Linked DNA regions of Homo sapiens: all the other regions are linked to region 1. Evidence: promoter capture Hi-C in 16 types of primary human blood cells and fetal thymus (Javierre and others, 2016). All regions are on one chromosome and are shown on one strand. Each heading gives the region's core, a stretch centred on a gene start or on the middle of the fragment in contact. The rest is flanking DNA. Distances are from core to core; before and after follow the strand shown.

What was found. Contacts are between HindIII fragments. The CHiCAGO score rates a contact against its expected background, and 5 or more counts as called.
Region 2: a contact is called between a fragment that was not itself captured here and the fragment with the promoter of H3C4 in region 1, in 4 of 17 cell types (total CD4 T cells, monocytes, M0 macrophages and 1 more). The highest score is 7.1, in total CD4 T cells.
Region 3: a contact is called between a fragment that was not itself captured here and the fragment with the promoter of H3C4 in region 1, in 2 of 17 cell types (naive B cells and total B cells). The highest score is 8.8, in naive B cells.
Region 4: a fragment that was not itself captured here is called in contact with the fragment with the promoter of H3C4 in region 1 in 2 of 17 cell types (M0 macrophages and M1 macrophages); the score reaches 9.9 in M0 macrophages.

The regions. Positions count from the first base shown.
Region 1 is chr6:26,195,217-26,198,911 of GRCh38, forward strand. H3C4 (H3 clustered histone 4) reads right to left here and starts at 2,070. Exons shown (of 1, transcript NM_001376937.1): 1 at 1,568-2,070. The coding sequence starts at 2,034. The coding sequence ends at 1,624. H2AC7 (H2A clustered histone 7) reads right to left here. Exons shown (of 1, transcript NM_021065.3): 1 at 3,568-3,695. The coding sequence ends at 3,635. It also overlaps the pseudogene H1-12P. RefSeq lists enhancers at 1,197-1,798, 1,311-1,420, 1,799-2,399, 3,142-3,201, 3,232-3,291 and 4 more. The HindIII fragment of the contact is 2,796 bases long and covers 1,442-3,695 here.
Region 2 is chr6:27,798,275-27,801,969 of GRCh38, forward strand. No RefSeq gene overlaps it. Among named protein-coding and RNA genes, the nearest start is that of TRQ-TTG3-3, 4.2 kb to the left of the region's middle. The HindIII fragment of the contact is 618 bases long and covers 1,247-1,864 here.
Region 3 is chr6:27,670,439-27,674,133 of GRCh38, forward strand. It overlaps TRS-CGA3-1 (tRNA-Ser (anticodon CGA) 3-1), which reads right to left and starts at 2,093; the gene lies at 2,012-2,093. TRR-ACG2-4 (tRNA-Arg (anticodon ACG) 2-4) reads right to left here and starts at 199; the gene lies at 127-199. The HindIII fragment of the contact is 3,512 bases long and covers 1-3,446 here.
Region 4 is chr6:24,721,178-24,724,872 of GRCh38, forward strand. No RefSeq gene overlaps it. Among named protein-coding and RNA genes, the nearest start is that of C6orf62, 3.9 kb to the left of the region's middle. RefSeq lists enhancers at 1-500, 246-1,039, 631-680, 731-820. The HindIII fragment of the contact is 1,539 bases long and covers 482-2,020 here.

The DNA of each region.
Region 1 (3,695 bases), core at 820-3,319:
TCTGAACTGTGAATCTCTGAAAGTTGGAACTTTTGATAAAGGCCGAGGCTGCCTTAAGTAAAAACTAGAGAAAGAAAATGTAAAGATCATAACACCGTAGCCGTTCCAGTTCATTGTAGAATAGAATTGGTGTGATTCCTCCTCAGGAAATTTAAACTATTTTGATTTTCTGAATTTCCGCAAACACAACTCAGAAACAGGGTTGAGACTAGGTTGCTGCCAAGCTGAAAGACTGAGCTGGGAACCAATCAGCGCGCAGCGTGTCTGTGTGTGACACACACGTAATCACAGACACACTCGCAGCCTGACTTTTTTTTTTTTTAACTGTTAGATATCCAAACCTACAATCATGTCCGAAACTGTACATGCCGTGACTCCTGGTCTATCTCCCAAGTCAAAGACTGAAGTAAAGAAAAAGGTTGCAAGTCCGAAGTTGCAGTGAAGTGCAAGATGTCCAGGCCCCTCCGGTATGTGAGTTCATCACTAATGACTTAGCCGTCTCCAAGAAGCGCAGCGGCCTTCTCTGTGGCCGCGCTCAAGTAGGTGTTGGCGGCTACGATATGAAGATCGGCCCTTGCCGGTCGCGGTGGCCTACGTTTGTAATCTCAGCATTTTGTGAGGCCAAGGCGGGAGAATCTCTTAAGCTAAGGAGTTGTTTTTGGTGGTTTTGTTTGTCCTTGGGGATTTTTTTTTTTTTTTTGAAGGAGTCTAGCTCTGCTGCCCAGGCTGGAGTGCAGTGGTGTGATCTCGGTTCACTGCAACTTCCGCCTCCCGGGTTCAAGCCCTTCTCCTGCCTCAGCTTTCCATGTAGCTGGGACTGCAGGCGTGTGCCACCACACCCGGCTAATTTTTGTATTCTCAGTAGAGACGAAGTTTCAATGTGTTGGGCAGGCTGGTCTCGAACTCTTGGCATCACGTGATCCGCCCGCCTTGGCATCCTAAAGTGCTGTGATTACAGGCCTGAGCCACCTCGCCTGGCCAAGCTAAGGAGTTTTGAGGCCAGCCTGGGTAACACAGTGAGACCTCGTCCCTAAAAATAAATACAAATTTTTAAAAATTATTTGAATAAAGTTGGGCCTTGAAAACAAACGAGGGCATCTTCGTGCTAAGGAGTGCAGCGCCTCAGGTTCATTCCCGCCAAACCAGGCAGTGTTAGGAAAATCAAGACCGAGGCCAGAAAAGCCGCTGCAGTCATGCCCAAGACAGCTGTCCTGGCAGCCGAGAGGCCCAAGAAAGCTTGGGGCGTCCTTATTCCGAAAAAGAGTACTAAGCGGACCCCAAAAGCTTTTGCTGGTGGAGGCTGCTGGAGAAGGTTGGTTGGTCAAAGGTGGCCAAGAAAGTTCCCAAGCCGGAGGCATCCAAGCCTAAGAAAGCGGCCCCCAAAACAAGGAGATATAAGAGTACCTTAAAGGCTGTTTTAAGAACTCCCCAATTATAATAAAGCTTTTTGCACCAATTCCGTGAGGGGAGGGGGAACGGATAGAGGCAAGAATGCTTACTTACCTTGAGTGAACAGAGGTTCCAGTTTACGGACAGCAACAGTAAACAGCAACTTTTATAGAAAAGGTGGTTGGCTCTGAAAAGAGCCTTTGGGTTTTGGTTAGCACACATTCACAAGACAATTTACGCCCTCTCCCCACGAATGCGGCGAGCAAGCTGGATGTCCTTGGGCATGATAGTCACTCGCTTGGCGTGAATGGCGCATAGGTTGGTGTCCTCAAACAGCCCCACCAGGTAGGCCTCGCAGGCCTCCTGCAGCGCCATCACCGCCGAGCTCTGAAAACGCAGATCAGTCTTGAAGTCCTGCGCGATCTCACGGACTAGACGCTGGAATGGCAGTTTGCGAATCAGCAGCTCGGTCGACTTCTGGTAGCGGCGGATCTCGCGCAGAGCCACCGTGCCGGGCCGGTAACGGTGGGGCTTCTTCACGCCGCCGGTGGCTGGAGCGCTCTTTCGAGCAGCCTTGGTGGCCAGCTGCTTGCGTGGCGCTTTCCCACCCGTGGACTTGCGAGCAGTCTGCTTGGTACGAGCCATTGCGAACTTCTAAACCCTGCTAAATGACGAAAAAACGAAAGTCTAGCCTTTCGTACCCGTATATATAAAGACACCCCTGTTCTGATTGGACAAGGCAGCCTTTCCCCTGCAGCTCGATTGGTGGAGACGCCCACTCCCTGACAGAACATCTCCTGCATGTAGACCAAATATTAAAACTTTCCTCCGTCCATCTTTAACTGCTGGTGTTTTCAACCCTTTCCCCTCTGTGCCATGTTTCTAGCTTTTATTTAAAACGTACTTTGGTTTTCCTTGGCAAAATTGTGTCTAGCTACTAGGATGACGTGTCTTAATTTTTTTTTAAATGTTGGCGCTGAAACTGGCTTTGATCAACGTTTTAAAAAGACGCGCGCTAGTTGTGATTGGCCAAGTGATTTCTTTTTACCCTCTTAAGTTTAGAAAGGTTAATTTCATATCTTGATTTGTCTATTTAAACTTGGAGATATTTTCAATAATTTGTTCCAAATGCACCATGACTATTAACTCATAAGTAACAATATGAAACCTGATGTTAAGCTACATGAACACATTTAATTTCACCACAATATGTCATCCTCATATGAAAGCACTCTTATCTTTTACAAGTTCAACTGGTATTTGTGTAATCTGCTGTAAAAAAAAAAAAAAAAAAAAGCCAAATTTATAAATGGCACAAAAAGACCAGTGTGCCCTTTTAGTCATGCTGAACACTGTGCTAAGAAGCTCCACCTAAGGGCCGTCTGGCTCCAGGGGATGTAGGTTTGTATTCCTATTGATAATTAATTAGGGTTAGCTCAGTAGAGTTGAAAGTGGCTTGCAAAAACAAACCCAAAAAATACTTACAAATTACAGGTTATTTCGTATCATTAAGATGCATACAAAAGACAATAAAACATTTGTTCTGGTTCTGTTGCTTTAAGTCACTAACTATATTTTTATGTAAATGTAAACACTGACAAACATTAACTTCTCTCCTGTATGTCTCAGGCCTTTTAACAGCTTTGCAATCCTAACGAGCCGCTGCATTGATCGATTTAAATTACATGTGACATAAAGTCTCTTTGCATTTTAATTAGTTTGCTTTTTTGGGTTTTTGTTTGTTTTGAGACAGTCTCGCTCTGTCGCCGAAACTGGAGTGCAGTGGCGCGATCTCGACTCACTGCAACCTCCGCCTCCGGGGTTCAACATTTTCTCCTGCCTCAACCTCTTAAATAGCTGAAATTACAGGCGCGCGCCACCACGCCCGACAAATTTTTTTATTTTTAGTAAAGACGGGGCTTCACACCATGTTGGTCAGGCTGTCCTGGAACTCCTGACCCTGTGATCCGCCCACCTTGGCCTTCCAAAGTCCTGGGATTACAGGCGTAAGGAACCGCGCCCCGCCAATTTGCTTATGTATTTTTATGGCATCTTTAAAATGGACGGTTAGTTTCACGATTCAGTGTTAAGAACACCCACTTATAAATGGAAAAATTATTAAAGAAAACTGCAAAATAGCTATTTACACAGAAAATGTGAGCCCTTTTAAGGAATACATGGGTGGCTCTGAAAAGAGCCTTTGTTAAGACTGCTTCCTTAAAAAGCCAATATAAGAGTTCTCGTTTTACTTGCCCTTGGCCTTGTGGTGACTCTCAGTCTTCTTGGGGAGCAGTACAGCCTGGATG
Region 2 (3,695 bases), core at 306-2,805, 1.6 Mb after region 1:
GTGAACGATGAAGCTCAAAACTTCTTACCCACCCCATGGCTGTCTTTGCTCCCACCACTATGGCCTAACCTGCTGTTCCCAGAACATGCTAAGCAGAGCCTGCCTCTGGTACTTTGCACTCATAGTTCCTTCTGCCCCAAACAGCTTCCCCCAGGTAGCAATATACTCTCTCACCAGTTTATGCCAATGACAGTTCAATGAGACCTCATTTGTATGCCCTCCTTAAAAATGCAATCTCCAGCTCCCTATCCCCTTTCCTGCTGTATTTTTATCTAAACCACTTATCAAGGTGATGACATGTTATGGAATTTAATCCCACCTCAAAGTACCATAAGAACAGGAATTTTAGCAGGCTATTTTCAGCGTGTATTCTCAATGCTAATATATTGTCTCTCATATATTAAGTGCTCAATAAATGTTTTTTTGGTTAAGTAAGTTAATTTCCTTTAAGCTGGCTGATGGGGTCATATAGAGGTAAAATTACTGGCTCTGAGTGATTTTCCTCACTTATAAATATAATTTGCAGTAATTTCTATATTATTCTTTTCCTCTTAATGCATGGTGATAATTATTTCCCTGTTACATATGTCTTTTTTGTTTGTTTGTTTGTTTGTTTGAGACAGAGCCTCGCTCTGTTTCCCAGGCTGGAGTTCAGTGGCGCAGTCTTGGCTCACTGCAACCTCTGCCTCCCGGGTTCAAGTGATTCTCCTGCCTTAGCCTTCTGAGTAGCTGGGATTACAGGCATGTGCCACCATGCCCAGCTAATTTTTGTAATTTTAGTAGAGACGAGGTTTCACCATGTTGGCCAGGCTGGTCCTGAACTCCTGACCTCAAGTGATCTGCCCACCTCGGCCTCCCAAAGTACTGGGATTACGGGCATGAGCCACCATGCCTGTCCTACATATATCTTATTCATTGTCTTATTCAATCATACAACTTCCTGATAAAATGAGGCTGATTTTCACCCCTATTTTGCTGTTAAGGAAACTGGTATAATGAGTGTCACTGACTTGTTTGTGATCACACAGTGGACAAAATGGCATTTGTTTCTTTGTGGTGATCTCACAAAGGTCAAGATGACCTTAGATCCTCAGTTTTGGCTGTTTTTTTTTTGTTGTTTTTTTGTTTGTTTGTTTGTTTTACACCAAGGAACCAGGTTCTAGCTCCTATGTTTGTTCATTGCATGGAAAGGAACAGGAAGATCTGGGGGCCACTGAATGGAAGGTTAGATCCATTTTCTTGGTTAAGCTTGTAGGTTTTCTCGTCTCTTTTCCTTCCTGCAGCACAATTCTTATGAATGGCAATATCTTCTATTAAAATTCTCAGTCTGTAGTCTTCTTGTCCATACAGAAAATAGATTTCAGGTCAACACATTTGATAGTCTGGACTGTGCTAACTGCTCCAATATTTGAGTACATCTTTTGGGGATGTGGGAATTTAGTGTTGTAGGCCTCAAGTGGGGTTCGTTCCCAGAATTTGGAGAGGCTATAGAAATATAACCTGGTTGGCCAGGCACGGTGACTCATGCCTGTAACCCCATCAATGTGGGAGGCCGAGGCAGGTGGATCACCTGAGGTCAGGAGTTCGGGACCAGCCTGGCCAACATGGAGAAACCCTGTCTCTACTAAAAACTTTTAAAAAATTAGGCGGGCGTGGTGGTACGTGCCTGTAATCCCAGCTACTTGGGAGGCTGAAGTAGGAGAATCCCTTGAACCCGGGAGGTGGAGGTTGCAGTGAGCTGAGATCACACCATTGCACTCCAGGGCAACAGAGTGAGACTCCATCTCAAAAAAAAAAAAAAAAGAAAAAGAAATATAACCTGGCCATAATATAAGCATAAATAAAATAGATGACATTCTTTCAAAGCTTTTCTTAGCCTCTTATGTTTCTCAGATATTAAATAATCGGGCCAGGCACAGTGGCTCACGCCTGTAATCCTAGCACTTTGGGAGGCCGAGGCGGGCAGATTAACTGAGGTCAGGAGTTCAAGACCAGCCTGGCCAACATGGTGAAACTCCATCTCTACTAAAAACACAAAAAATTAGCCAGGTGCAGTGGCACGCGCCTGTAATCCCAGCTACTCGGGAGGCTGAGGCAGGAGAATCGCTTGAACCTGGGAGGTGGAGGTTGTGGTGAGCAGAGATCGTGCCACTGCACTCCAGCCTGGGCGACAGAACGAGACTTCATCTCAAATAAAAATTTAAAAAAAAAATAGTCAAATGCAAAATAAAGTAACATTCCAGCAATTTAATGACAGATATTGAAGCCACCTTTGCAAAATTATGACTGAGACAGAGAAAGAGATGGAATTTAACCAACTCCGTCTTGCTTCTAACCTCCAAGCCATCCTTGTTCATTCCTGGGTGTAGGCTGAACTAATTTAGGGAGAAACTTAGTTTGTAGTTTATAGTTTAAACAAAGATGGTAACAGCCCTTTCCCAAAGCAGACCTCCTTCTTGCCTTGGGACTGGATTGCCTTTGTAGGACTAACATTAGCCACAAGATTAAAAATTATGGCAGCTGGAGGCTACAAGATTCTAACCCTCCCTAACTGCTCCTAAGATCAGTGCTTGAGATATTTTGCAGACGCTGCACTCAAGATGGGTCAGATAGCACCACCCAGATCTATTAACTGGCTCATCTGATCCTGTAGCCCCCACCCAGGAACTGACTCAGCACAAGAAGAGAGCTTCAACTCCCTATGATTTAATCTCTGACCATTCAGCACTCCTGGCTCACTGGCTTCCCCCCATCCACCAAGTTATCCTTAAAAACTCTGCTCCCCAAATGCCCAGGGAAACTGATTTGAGTAATAAAACTCCAGTCTCCTGCACAGCCAGCTCTGTGTGAATTACTCTTTCTCTATTGCAATTCCCCTGTCTTGATGAATCAGCTCTGTCTAGGCAGCGGGCAAGGTTAACCCCTTGGGTGGTTACAATATGTACATGGGAAAGTGGTTGGCCTGCTTGGAATTGGAACAAAGGCAAACTAAGCATGATGATTATCAATGAGTTGCAGCCCAAAACCAACCAAGGAAGGACTATTAGTTCATGCTAGATTGCCTGTGTGGCTGTTTAAGACAGGATTCCACCAACAGTAAGAGAGACAAGTTTTAATCCCATTCAAAATTATGAAACTATTCCTTAGTAACCAGGCTGTTTCATTTACTTTGATTTGTTACTTACTAAAGCAATTTCTGATTAACAATTTGTGGTCAGTTCTAAGTCCAGGCACATCTTCCACTATAATTAACACAATGAGTTCTAGCTTTACTATTTTCTTATAAGTTTTGTTATTGTGAATATATCCTTCAGATGCAAGCATCCCAATAAAATCTCTGCTTGAAAAGGCCTGGTGCAATGGCTCACGCCTGTACTCCCAGCACTTTGGGAGGCCGAGGTGGGCGGATCACCTGAGCTCAGGAGTTTGAGATCAGCCTGGCCAACATGGTGAAACCCCGTCTCTACTAAAAATACAAATATTAGCTGGGTGCGGTGGTGTGCACCTGTAGTCCCAGCTACTTGGGAGGCTGAGGCATGAGAATCGCTTGAACGTGGGAGGCAGAGGTTGCAGTGAGCAGAGATTGCACCACTGCACTCCAGCCTGGGTGACAGCGAGACTTCGTCTCAAATAAATGAATGAATGAATGAATGAATAAATAAATAAATAAAATTCCCACCTGAAGCATTCCATCA
Region 3 (3,695 bases), core at 441-2,940, 1.5 Mb after region 1:
AAAATCCTGTAAGTTGGCTCTTTCGACGCTTGTCTCTTTCACGTTCAAGTAACAGCACCACTCTGGAAAAGGACATTCACAGGATTGTTAATACGGCTTTGAAGAAGGAAAAAGTGAGAGCACAAGCGAGCCAGCCAGGAGTCGAACCTAGAATCTTCTGATCCGTAGTCAGACGCGTTATCCATTGCGCCACTGGCCCCTGCCTGTAACGCTGTCTTAACTGTTACTCTTTTCATAATTATATTGTATTATACTATTGGGGCCAGAAAAAAAAAAGATTGTTTCTTTATTTAGGTAGGGATTAAAACCCCAAACCACACTGATTCAAGGAAAGCATGTTTTCTTTTGTGGTTTGTTGGCATAATAGACATTCACATAAAGTGTCTTTATTGAAAATAATGACCATTTTTCATCTTTGAAACATTATATATGAGCTAAGATGAATGTCTTTCCTTCAAAGCAATATTGGTGTTTCTATCTTCTCTTTCATGTGTGTGCCTACTTTTTAGCTTTTTGTTACTTATTTTTCAGGCCAATCAGCTGCTTTTACCTGAATTTGATTTTTTTTTTTTTTTTTTTTTTTTTTGAGTCGGAGTTTCGCTCTTGTTGCCCAGGCTGGAGTGCAGCGGCGCGATCTCGGCTCACTGCAACCACCGCCTCCTGGGTTCAAGTGATTCTCATGCCTCAGCCTCCCAAGTAGCTGGGATTACAGGCATGTGCCTCCATGCACGGCTAATTTTGTATTTTTAGTAAAGACGGGGTTTCTCCGTGTTGGTCAGGCTGATCTCGAACTTCCTACTTCAGGTGACTCGCCCGCCTCGGCCTCCCGAAGTGCTGGGATTACAGGCGTGAGCCACCGTGTCTGGCCTGAATTTCATTTTTAATATACTTACATTGGGCACTAATGATGTATGTGGATCAGTAATGAGCAATATGTATTATTTTAAATTTAGATATTGCCAAAAGTAAAGTGCTTTGTAATACATTTCTGGAAGTATTAATCATAGTTTTTCCCTCTTCTCGTCCAAAAGGAAAAAACAAGTACCCACTCACTAGGGAGAAGTTTATTGTAAAATGGTATTACAACTCAAAGTAGCAGATGAAGACACTCAAATTTAACGAGGAGTCAAGAATTCGGGAAAGTACACATTTTTCAGAATCACATTTGACATAGAAACTTAGAAAAAGGAACTTTACTTGCATAGCTGTTCAAAGTAAGCAAAATAGTGGAAAATGAAGAAGTGCTTATAAGGAGACGAAGTTTCGTATGGGTTTAAGAAGGTGGTCAGAAGCCAAAATATATCCTCTTTGTGCCTCTGTTTCCTCGTTTATACAAAACGCTTTGAAGAGCAACTAATGCATATGACGGATTGTTATCATCCTAATTTTTTTGGCTCCCACCAGCTGTGAGATCAGGACAAATACAAAGTAAAGATTGCTGCCTGAGAATGCTTTAAGAAAGCTGTCATACTAGTAATCTAAAAGGGAAATTGTATTCCTAATATTTTCAACGTTGCACCTGTCTTGTATTTGCCATTATGATTAGATGTAAGACAACTAGTATCTTCTTTTTCTTTGAGACAGTCTCACTCTGTCTCCCAGGCTGGAGTGCAGTGGCGCGATCTCGGCTCACTGCAACCTTCGCCTCCCAGGTTCAAGCGATTCTTCTGCCTCAGGCTCCCAAGTAGCTGGGACTACAGGCGTGCGCCAGTAAGCCCGGCTAATTTTTCTGCATTTTTAGTAGAGACGGGGTTTCACCGTGTTGGTCAGGCTGGTCTCCAACCCCTGACCTCAAATGATCCGCCCGTTTCGGCCTCCCCAAGTGCGGGGATTGCAGAAGTGAGCCACCGCGCCCGGCCTTCAAATGTACATATTTCTTGATGTACATTTCCACAAGTGTGCGCGCGCTGTAAAAGCCACAGCGATAGCACTCACAACTTTCTATCCTAGTGAACTAATGAAAGCTAACTGATGAAAGTAGCAAATTGGAAATCTAACCAGAAAATGGCGACGCTGTGAGCAGGATTTGAACCTGCGCGGGGAACCCCCATTGGATTTCGAGTCCAACACCTTAACCACTCGGCCATCACAGCTCCGAGGACACTTTTTGTTTCAGAGGAAGTCGTGTTAGGCTCTTTGACTCTCTCGCTTTTTAATGTTCCCACGGCAGGTTAATGCTTCCGTGTTTGTATTTGTCACTTTTTATATATTTGTCTCTCTCTTTCAATAAGAAGTTCCTGGGAAACATAATAGTGTCTTAATCTTTACTTGTTATCTGACTCTCTATGCATCAGAAACTTATTTGGTGCTTAGTGGCTGCTTTTGTTGCTGGAACAAATCCCCGGAGACTCAGTTGTCTGTTCCCTATTCCTCCCTCCAGTTCATGAATTTTCTTCTCTCTTTACCCAGCACATGTTAGAGTCACGTTCTTGCTGCACTCTCAATTTCCCTGCCTCTCTCACTTTGTACTCCTTTGGCAAAGCCACAACCAGGGCAGCTAAACATGGCGGAAGAAAAACAATCAGTTGACAGACCTCACTTTAAATTCATGACAATGAATGTCAAGTAGGTGCTCAAGGCTACCAGGCAAATTGTACCATACGCGATTAGATTAGTCCACTCCCAATCCTCTTGTTCTAAGTCACTGTTTCAGCCGGATGCAGTGGTCCAAGCCTGTAATCCTAGCACTTTGGAGGCCGAGGCGGGGGGGGAGATCACCTGAGGTTAGGAGTTCGAGACCAGCCTGGCCAACATGGCGAAACCCCATCTCTACTAAAAAAAAAAAAAAAAAAAAGCCAGATGTGATGGCTCGCGCCTGTAATCCCAGCTACTCGGGAGGCTGAGGCAGGAGAATAACTTGAACCTGGGAGGCGGAGTTGCAGTGAGCTGAGATGGCGCCACTGCCCTCCAGCCTGGGTGACAGACAGTGAGACTCCGTCTCAAAAAAAAAAAAAATAAGTCACTATTTCATATCTCTCATGCCAATGCTCCAACACCTCCTCTCCCATCCTTGTGTTCAATTGATGACTTTACTTCCTACTTCACAATCAGAAGAGACCTTCCACGCACATCTATCACCACATTAATCCACCTACCAGCCTCTGAAGGACTGTCAGTGATCCTATAATGCCTTGACAAGGTCGCCGATTATCTCCACATGGCTAAAATCATTTCCCAGTCCTCACCTTACTTGGGATAGCTGCAGCTATTAATACATTCTCCTTCTTACAACACTTTCTTCAATTGACTTTAGGGTAACAATTTTCCTGGTTGTCTTCCACTTAGTAATAAGCATTTAAGATTCCTCCGTGTCTTTTCATGCTTTAATAACTCATTTATTTTTAGGGCTGAATAATATTCCATTGTCTGAGGTACCGTAGTATATTTATTCATTTACCTACTGAAAGACATATTGGTTACTTCCAACTTTTGGCAATTATGAATAAAGCTTCTATAAACATTTATGTGCAGGTTTTGTGTAGACATGTTTTCAGCTCCTTTGCATAGTTGCCAAGGGGTGTGATTGCTGGATCATATAATAAAAGTATGTCTAGTGTTGTAAGAAACCACCAAACTGTCTTCCAAAGTAGCTGTACCATTTTTCATTCCCACCAACAATGAATGAGAGTTTCTGTTGCTCCATAACCTCACCAGTGTAGGTGTGGTCAGTGTTCCAGATTTTGGCCATTCTAATA
Region 4 (3,695 bases), core at 1-2,500, 1.5 Mb before region 1:
GGGGCTCCCCGCCACTCCTTCCGCCCCCCTTCTTCAGGAAGTCCCAGTCTCCTGAGTTGGCTCTTCGCCCCGCCCCGATGTCGTCATAAAAGCACGCCCTCAACCATCCTCAACAAAACACCCGGATGGAGTCGCACTTCCCGAGTCTCGTCAGCCTCTCAGAGTCAGGCTGGGCGCGTGACAGAGCCGAACTAGCGACCTGGGCGGGCCAAAACTGCGGAAGTCGGCGGAGAGTGGGCGAGGGTAGGGGCGGAGCAAAGAAGGAAAAGGAAAGTGTGTGTTGGAGATTGGAAGATTCTTATTTCGATTCTTATAATTAGTTAGTCCTGGGGGTCGGCCCCGCGGTATCCTGCGGCAACAAACCTAGAACTCAATTCGACACCTGGAATTTAAACGGCGTGCGGGAGCAGATGTCTCATGTTAGTGCTACTTGCCTCTGTCCCCACCCCGCCACGTGCGCAGGCAGGGAGGGCGGTCCTCAAGCTTCGAACAAGGTCAAAGACGTTGTTCAGACGTTGCTGCTGTGGCTTAGGAGAGGAGCAGCCCAGTCTGACTCGTGGATTTTTACCCACTGCTGTCAGAACACACTTTCTGTTAGAATCCCCCAAGACCTCAGACCTACAGCCTGCCCCTTAGGTGGTTCACTGTCTTCATCGAAACGTTTGCCGCCGAGTCGCACGTCCTTGGCACCAAAAAGCGTTGAGTCCATTTTTCAAAGCTCTAATGTGCTCTTTAAAACACAGTTATGTAAGTACTTAGCAAAGGTCAATACTCCACATAAGCAATGCTTATATACTCATTGGCTACTCTGAGATTTTAGAAGTCCATTGGGACCCCAATTACTACTTTTCACTTCGTGAAGTCAAAACAGATCAGCTGTAATAACATTATTTCAGCCATGAGCCAAAAGAATAACTGGTACCCACCCTTCAATATAAATTGTCCAGAACCAAAGGATGAGTCCTGAGATTTCCAAATAACTTCTAATCTCGGAAGATACAGCTTGCATTTTGCTAGTGCTTTGCTGATTTGTTTTCAAAATCATGTAACTATGGAAAGCTCACAGAGATAAAACAGAAAATGTCACGTAGTTTAGAGCATTGGTTTAAAAAAGAAAGATTTTTAAAAGTAAGCCGAGCATGGTGGCTCACGCCTGTAATGCCAGCACTTTGGGAGACCGAGGCAGGCGGATCACCTAAGGTCAGGAGTTCGAGACCAGCCTGGCCAACATGGTGAAACCTCGTCTCTACTGAAAATACTAAAATCAGCCTGGCTTGGTGGCAGGCGCCTGCAGTCCCAGCTACTCGAGAGGCTGAGGCAGGAGAATCGCTTGAACCCGGGAGGCGGAGATTGCAGTGAGCCGAGATCGCACCATTGCACTCCAGCCTGGGCAACAGAGTGAGACTCCGTCGGAAAAAAAAAAAAAAACAAACAAACATATGAGACATACAAGCCAGTATGATCTTCAGGTGATCCGCCTGCCTCAACCTCCCAAAGTGTTGGGATTACAGGCATGAGCCACCATTCCCAGCCGGCTTATATGTTCTTGACCTGGCCTTGACTTGTATCCATGATCAACTTCATGGAAGAATTTTTAAAATAACAGCTTTATTGAAATATAATTCACATACCGTATTTATCTACTTGAAGTGTACAATCCAATGGTTTTTAATATATTCAGTGTTGTGCAGCCATTACATTACCCCAAAAAGAAACCCTGTACCTATTAGCAGTCACTTCTCTTCTTTCTAGTTTATGTTCTGTCTATAGATTTGCCGTTTCTGAAATTTCATATAAATGAAATCATTTAATATGTGGTCTTTTGTGACTGGCTTCTTCACTTAGCATAATGTTTTCAAGGTTCATCCATGTTGTAGCATGTATCAGTACTTAATTCCTTTTTATTGTGGAATAATATGTATTGTATGAAATTCTATATTCATTCATCAGTTGATGGACATTTGAGTTGTCTCTGCCTTTTGGCTGTTATAAATAATGCTGCTATGAACATTTACTTAAAAGCTTTTGTATAGACGTATGTTTTTAATTCTCTTGGGCATATACTTAAGAGTGGAATTACTGGGATATATGTTAACTCTATCTTTAACCATGTGAGAAACTGCCAGATGTTTTCCAAGTCTGTTGCATCATTTTACATTTCCTCCAGCAGTGTATTCCAATTTCTCCACATTCTTGTTATTATGTCTTTTTTAGTATAACCATCCTAGTGGGTATGATGTATGTCATGGTGGTTTTGATTTTCCTTTCCCCAACGATTAATGATGTTGAGCATCTTTTCATGTGCTTATTGGCTGTTCTAATATCTTCTTTGGAGAAATGTCTATTCAGAACTTTTGCCCATTTTTATTTATCTACTTGTTTATTTATTTATTTTTTGAGACAGAGTCTCGCTATGTTGCCCAGGCTGAAGTGCAGTGGCATTATCTCAGCTCACTGCAACCTCCGCTTCCTGGGTTCAAGCAGTTCTTCTGCCTCAGCCCCGAGTAGCTGGGCCCACAGGCCCCCACCACCATGCCCGGATGATTTTTGTATTTTTAGTAGAGACGGAGTTTCACCATGTTGGCCAGGCTCGTCTCAGACTCCTGACCTCAAGTGATCCACCCACCTCGGCCTCCCAAAGTGTTGGGATTACAGGTGTGAGCCACCAAGCTCGGCCTTTTACCCATTTTTAATTTAAAAAATTGTTTTTTTAATTATTAAGGTGTAGAAGTTTTTTATTCTAGATACAAGTTCCCTGTCAAATATATACTTTACAAATACGCTCCCCTATTCTGTGGGCTGTCCTTTCACTTTCTTGGTGATATCCTTCGCAGCACGGAAGTCTTTAATTTTAATAAAGTCCAACTTATCTATGTTTTTCATTTGTCCCTTGTGCTTTTGTTGTTTTATCTAATACACCATTGAAGAATTTTTTCACTACTATAATAATCCTGAAAAAAACAGTATGGAGCAGATGTTGAGGAAAAAATGAAGTTTTTAGTTTCAGCTACTGTGAAACAGAATTGGAGACACCTGGTCACAGCTGAGCACATCCTATGAAACTGTGTTATGGGACTGTGCTAGGTCTTAATGAGATGAGCCAAGAAATAGCAGCAATGTCCCCTGGAGGACGAAAACACTGCTAGCTCAATTTTCTCTGTAACTTGAAAGGGCTATAAAATAAGAAGGTAGTCGAAGGAATTAAAATTTTTAAAAGCCGTGACCAAACGTTTCTCAATGAAATTCAGATAAAAGTCAGAGAGCATTCACTTAAGATTTAGCTTCTTTAACTGTGGAGAAATGCATTTCATTGTGTTAGAAATGGCTTACTTAGGGTTAGGCTGCTTCAAACACAATAGGATTTGTGGAGTGATGATTTGATGGTGGCACCTTGGCTAAAAATATCTGCTTAACTTCCCTTTTGGAGTTTTAAATTATACCACTAGATACATTGAAATTTCCCTGGTTGAAATGCAGATATCACTGCAAAGGTTACATTTTAATGAAATAACACCTTATAGAGATTCTGTGCGAGCCTCCTTTCTGAAGAAACACAATGCAGGCCAGCTTGGGCGGGCTCCTGTGTTAACTTCCAATCTTTAAAGAAGGACAACCTCGGATAATCCCAGTCTCTGACATTTATAGCAAGTTAGGAAATGATTTCTCAAACCTGTGCTTGTGTAGCCTAAATAAAT